Linked DNA regions of Homo sapiens: region 2 is linked to region 1. Evidence: promoter capture Hi-C in 16 types of primary human blood cells and fetal thymus (Javierre and others, 2016). All regions are on one chromosome and are shown on one strand. Each heading gives the region's core, a stretch centred on a gene start or on the middle of the fragment in contact. The rest is flanking DNA. Distances are from core to core; before and after follow the strand shown.

What was found. Contacts are between HindIII fragments. The CHiCAGO score rates a contact against its expected background, and 5 or more counts as called.
Region 2: the fragment with the promoter of SLC7A1 here is called in contact with the fragment with the promoter of USPL1 in region 1 in 1 of 17 cell types (naive CD4 T cells); the score reaches 5.8 in naive CD4 T cells.

What each region holds. Positions count from the first base shown.
Region 1 is chr13:30,616,295-30,619,516 of GRCh38, reverse strand. It overlaps USPL1 (ubiquitin specific peptidase like 1), which reads right to left and starts at 1,597. Exons shown (of 9, transcript NM_005800.5): 1 at 1,461-1,597. It also overlaps a transcript of HMGB1 not described here. RefSeq lists enhancers at 1,520-1,569, 1,590-1,919, 1,970-2,109, 2,130-2,199. The HindIII fragment of the contact is 4,577 bases long and covers 1-3,222 here.
Region 2 is chr13:29,594,037-29,597,258 of GRCh38, reverse strand. It overlaps SLC7A1 (solute carrier family 7 member 1), which reads left to right and starts at 1,571. Exons shown (of 13, transcript NM_003045.5): 1 at 1,571-1,843. RefSeq lists silencers at 1,205-2,444, 2,613-2,907 and an enhancer at 2,555-2,684. The HindIII fragment of the contact is 14,376 bases long and covers 836-3,222 here.

The sequences.
Region 1 (3,222 bases), core at 348-2,847:
ATAAACTGTTTTTGATGAAAATTTCCATCTACCTGAGGGAACCTAGAAAACTTTTTCAAATCAAACGGTTTTCTCTTTGTCTCTCTCAATTATAAAATATAAAGAGTCTCCAAATCTGCTCTCCTGATTCCATCACCCAACATTTCAGCGGGAAAAACCAGATAGGTTGGTGGTTGAAATCCCGAATATATAGAATCCCCCAAAAGAAAATTCATTTAATACCAGAGGTTTATTTGTCCATATGAGGGACATAAAAAAAATACCAGAGGTGGGCTCCCCAGTTCTTCTTCCAAATACAATTCACTTTGACTTACATACAAAATCCCGGGGGGGATTTTACAACTTAATTTGACCCTAAGTAACTGCTCTTCCTCCCTTCAAAAACAATCTGCTCCTCCTTCCCATATCTCACTTAAATGTGGGCGTCTCCATCCTTCCAAACACACAGACTAGAAAGTCTTGAGTTGTTCCCTATTCTTTATTTCCCTCTTCGCACAGTAAGTCACCAAATTCTGTGGACAGTTCTTTGGAAAGGTCTCAAATCTCTACCTCTTTCCCTTCCATATCACTGTCAAAATGATGCCTCTACAAGTCTGAGCCTGTCAATGCTTAGTTTAAAATTCTCTATTTACTCTAGCCTGATTACAGCAAACTCCGTCCAAACAGCCCAATATAACCTAAAGGTAGTATTATGACCTAAAGCTCATTGTACTGTGAAACCAACCTAGCTTTCCAGTTCTGTCTTCCTCAACTCTACTTCACCCCCAGCATCTTTCTTCTAACATCCCCTTTTCATACTTCTGTGAACCACTTATACTCCAGAAGCCTTAATGTGAATTATTAGCCCAGCATGAACCCAGTTAGATAGCACAATGAACGTGTCAAGGTGGCCCTGGGAATCGCAAAAAGTATTCAATTAAACTTAATTCACACTCCTGTGTGCAAAATGGAGAAACCCAGGGAAACAGCTGTTCGAAGAGGGGGCCTTAAACCCACCCATTTGAGCTCGCCCTCCGAGAGCGAGTAGGCTCGGCACGTGAACTGTCAAAAGCGAGGCCACAACCGACCTGGAAGCCGAGGAACAGGGTCAGCTTTCTGCACCCAGCCCTGTCAGGTACCAAACCCAACTGTCTTGAATCAGAGACGAACAGGACCAAAGGAGGTGAGTTTCAACACCCAAACTAAGAAGCCGAAGGAGGCGCAGGGTCCGTTAACCCTGCCCATCTCCACGCTCCTTGGAAAACGAAAACAAACTCTGGTTTCTCTTCAGCGTTCACCTCTCTGCGCCCAAACGGATCTGTAAGTCCAACTCTATACCTTAATCATCAACCTTTCCCACTTGAACCCCGTCCCAGCCCAGCCCATCCTTTCAGCGCGCCGACTACCCCATAGGTCATCCCAGCTCTGTCTCTTTTCCCAATTTCGAGAGCGGAAAGAAACCCCTCCCTCTTCTCCCTTACCTGCCGCGGGCACTCCCCTTCTTGGTACCGGGTCGATCGGAACTCCTGTTCCAGCTTGATCTCCACCCTAGTTGCAACGTTCAACCCACGTTCCCCTCGGACTGCTCCTCCCCCACTCGCGTCTCCACTAGGAAGGCGGCTTCCGGCTTGAGTCCGCGGCAAAAGAGTCCTCCTTCCTGCTGCACGCTGGGCCTGAAAGGACGGTGGCGTGGCGGGGAAGGTGAAGACGTGAGCACTTCCGGTCGCCCTCCGCAGAGGCGTGGCTGTCCGCCCTGTGGCCGCAGACGCAGTTGCGACTGCGGCGACGAGGAGGGGCGGGGCCGGTGGCTGCTGAGCCCGCCATGTGTGAGTGGCTGGGTTTGGGGAGGCGACGTTTCTGGAAGCTGCTGGAAAGCGCCCGAGTGGCGGAGGTGGCGCCAGCGGCCAGGGGGTGGGGCGTGATTAAAACTAGTGCGCGGCTTTCTGCGGAGGGATTACGCTGACGAAAGAGACCTGCTTGCGCGTCGCTGTTCCGTGGTCCGCGCGAGCGTGGTCGGGAGCCGCTGGTTCCTGGGGTGACCCGCGGAGGTGGGAGAGGGAAGGGCTTCCGAAGCCGGCGGGGGTGCCATGGACCCTCTCCGCCGGCGCGGCCTTCACAGCTGGGCCGCGCCGGGCATCCGTAGTCCGCTCTCCCAAAGCCTCGGTGGAGCTGAAGCTGCCACAGAGTGCATGTTCACAAAGGGTCATCACACACGGAGCTGCCCCTCCCTGTCTCCCTAGAGCCCATCTTCGAGGCCAGGGGCTTTTCTACCAGGATTCTGGGGTGTTTCTCCTCCTTTCCTCCCTCCCAGATCTTCTCACGGTAAGGGGAGCAGCGAAAGCGCAGGGACTTTGCATTCCACGACCCGTTCTGACTAGTCAACAGCCGATCTGTCCCTGCTGCTCTAATTCCAGCTGCCCTGCCTTGTTTTAACTTCAGAGAAAGGGGGAGTTCTCATTTGATAAGTTTAAGCCTTTGCTTTCGTAGGAAGGTCATGTGGCTTAAGGGACATCGTGACCGCGTATGCTATTTCTGCCTGTGCATTCTAAATCTTGGGGGCAGCATATTCCAGAAGTCCTTTTGGTCGATTGGTTCTGTGTCCTAGGATAACAATTTGTAGTTTCTGACCATTTCTTTACAGAAAAACCACAATTGGTATTTTGGACTGCGGGGTTTTTTAGTGGTCTCAAACTAAATGATTATATTCTGGAATAATGCTGACAATTTGGATAGGGTGGTGTGGAGGAAACAAGTCTCGTGTAGAAGAAATTATTTAGTAAAAAGGATTTTAGTTTTTGGTACTTCTGAATGCAAATGGCCAAGGAATCCAGCAGTTTGTTGGGGTTTCTCCAGACAAAAATAGGCTGGTTAGTTTGTTTACCTTTTTCTGTTGCTTTACTAGATTGTTAATGTATTTGTATATTTAAGATCTAGCTAGTTAGGTTTTTCTTTTTTATGAATTGTGATTAAAATTGGAGAAAGTAGTACTTCCTCCTGAAATAGACAAAACTCAGAGGGTTGTTTTCTTGTTCACCACTGCTACTTCCATTTTTAGAATGGAATACACTATTTGTAAAAAACAAACTTGCTGAGTATTAACTCATAAATTGAACAAAACAATTGGTTCAGTTAAAATGTAGCTAAAATTGTAAGACTGCAAAACAACATCACCAAACTGAATTGTATTTTTTAAAACGTTGTCTGCAAAGTTGAATTTTAGTCTTTCAGTGTAAATTTGGTATT
Region 2 (3,222 bases), core at 322-2,821, 1.0 Mb after region 1:
CACTCCAACTTGGTGACAGAGTGAGACCCACTCTCTAAAACAAAGACAAAAACACATTTTACAACTGCTAAGCCATCTGCATGTGTTCATTAAAACTTTTTCTGGGGACTTTTTCTGGCTCATCCCTGTAGTCCCGATGCTAGGGGAGGTTGAGGCAAAATGATCGCTAGACAGCTGGTATTTGAGGCCAGCCTATGCAACATATCAAAAACCCGTGTCTATATGTAGAAAAAATATTAACTAGGCGTGATGACACAAGCCTGTAGTTCCATCTGCTTGGGAGGCTGAGGCAGGAGGATGGCTTGAGCCTGGGAATTTGAAGTTCCAGTGAGCTATGATTGTACCGCTGCATTCCAGCCTGGGTGACAGAGTGAGACCCCTGTCTCTAAAAAACAAACAAATGACAACAGCAACAACAACAGAACACTTTTTCTGAAGCTAGCACCATGCAGTTATGTACTTTATAAATTGCTAGTCTAATTCCAAGGGAATAGTTCAGCAGCTGATATTTGAGAAGGACCTGTAGAAAGGATTCAAAGACCACGGACACCGTCCACTGTTTTTCTGTTTTCCTATAAGATAGAAGAAGGATGGCATTATTAATTTATGCCCTGTTTACCTATCCCAAGTCCCAGATCACTGGATCTTTAAAGATTATGATTCTCGCTTGGCTTTTGGTACAAAAGGAGACAAGGAGGGAGCTTAAAAGGTGAGCACGGTGTGATTCAGGACTGAAGCTTCTGCCACTTCCTGGGGGGTAACTGCAAAAGTGAGCCGTTCTGACTAGCCGTTTGTGCATTTGCCACTGCCAAGGGGGCACAGGTAGATTCAAGCTTTGGGGCTCTTCTGACAACTGGCAAGGATAAGGTATTAGCAAGGGCAAAGGAATAGTAATAAAATAATCCAATAACAAAGACATGAAGATTTATAATAATTTTTAGGCCGGTGCAGTGTTTCAGGACTGTAATCCTAGGGCGCTTTGGGAGGCCCAGGCGGGAGGATCGCTTGAGGCCAGGATTTCGAGGTTAAGGTGAACTGCGCTCCAGCCTGGGCAATAGAGTAACACCCTGTCTCTAAAATGAAAAGAAAACAGTTTAAACCTTTTAAGTGCATACCAAATCTTTTATTTTGGAGAAGGAAAACTGGTCTCGAGTTCCGTGTGAGCTCCCTGGGGCCCGCCGGGAGGGGGTTGGCACGGCCGGACCTGCAGCACTAGTTCTGGCCAGGGCGCTGTGGGATCTGCAGGGGACCACAGGATGCTGTGGCGCGGTGCGCTCAGATTGGCGGAGAAACGGCCACACGCCTACGGAGCTACTGAGAAGGCGAGCGGAGGCGCAGCCCGCCCGCCCGCCGCGGGAACCCCAGGTTGGGGCGCTGGGCGCGCGAAGACTCAGCCGCCCCGCCCACCAAGGGCGCGTCGGTCCCCGGCCGCAGCCTCTGGGCTGGCAGCCGCCGCCGCGCCGCGCTCCCATTGGTGCCCGGCGGTGACGCGGCCGAGCGGGCCGGGGCTGCCTGGTCCGGGGGCGGGCGTGGGGCGCGGGGCGCGGAGCGCGAGGGGCGGGGGCCGGGCGCACTGCTGATGAAACCTGGCGCCGGAACCCGCCAGCCCTCGGCGCCCATTCAGTCCGCGCAGGCAGGTGTGAGCAGCGGGTCAACTACCTGGCAGGCGCGCACGCGGCCGCGGGCTCCCGCTAACCGCAGCCTCCACTCCTCTCCCCGCGCGCCGCGCCCCCGCCCCGCCCCGCCCCGCCCGGTCTCGCCGGCCGAGCGTCCGTTGGTCCTTGAGCGCGTCCGACAGTCTGTCTGTTCGCGATCCTGCCGGAGCCCCGCCGCCGCCGGCTTGGTGAGTGCCCGGCCCCGCCAACGCAGGGGGCAGCTCCTTGGGCCCGGGTCATCACGGAGGGGGCCCTGGCGCCGCGTGGGGCCGCGGCAGGGCGGCGCGGGAGTGGCGAGGGCCCCCGCGCCGGGAACGCTGCCATCCTCTGGGAAGGGCCAGGACCAGGGCCGGGCGGGCCCCGGAGTGGGCGAGCGGGGCTGGTGCCCATGCGACTGTCGCCTCCACGGAGTCCATTTTGGCTCCCTGAAACCGCGGCGTGGTGCATGATGCAACACCGAGTGAGTAAGCGTGGGCGATCTGGCGATGCCCGCTCCGCGCGCCTGTCCGGGGACCCGCGCGCCGCTACGCACGGGGTGGTCGGGGTGCGTAGGCGGGCGGCGGGCACGGGGGCCAGACTGGGAGGCACACGGAGCCCGCCGGCGGCGAGGAGACCTTCCCTTACATGGCGCGGTGCAGAGCACCCCGCCCCGCCACGAGGTCCGGGGATGTGTCATCAGCCGTGGGTGGGGACTCTGCCCGGCCGCCCGGAGGGTGGTCCCGCGGCAGGTGGCCGGCCCAGGGACTCTGCTGCCATCCCCGCCCGGTGGCCGCCCTGACCTAGGGCGCCTGGCTCTCCGCTTGTCCCTAGAACCCGGGACGCGCCGCCTGCACCTCTCGTCTGGGTCCCCAAGATTGCTTTGAGGAAGTCTCCCCTAGGTGGGCTTCCTTGTGACCCAGTGTGGCCTGGAAAGGCCGGGTTCCTCAAGCCCTCCACATGGTTTGGAATGAGAGGAAGTTCTTCCGCCTTTAGCAAGACACCGTATTCTCAGGGTGTTCCTTTCTGCGTAGTAGAAAACTTCCCAGGCATGGGCAGGTCAGAGTCATTCTAAAACCTGCGCGTACACAGAGCGGCAGCTGCACTGTAGTACTACAACAGCCTGCTGGTTCAGCTCCTGACCCTTTCCAGGGGATGGGGGAACCAGACAGCAGTTGTGTTTGACTTGTGTGACTAGGATAGTCAGACATGTGCCTTCAGGAAAAAAATAAATAAATAACCTACATTTCCCAATACTCACGTCATCACCGCCATGCCCTCATGTGTTGGGTTTTAGTCCAGACATAGTTACCAGATGGTTGAGATTTCAATCCCAGGTGTATCTCCCTAAAGAATGTGCCTTTTATCTTACTTACATTCGACTAGTAGAATTGTGTATGTCGGCCTCTGGCCGAATGCCCTAATTGTATTTAATTCGAATTATAATTTATCTGGGATTTTTCCTAACATTTCTTGCCCTTTATGTTTGGTTCAGATAATAGGAAACCATGATACATTTATTCCTCTGGTATTTTTAGTTGATCTCAGTGGAAATTACCATGATTTTTATATGAACACACCCTCCTGTTAT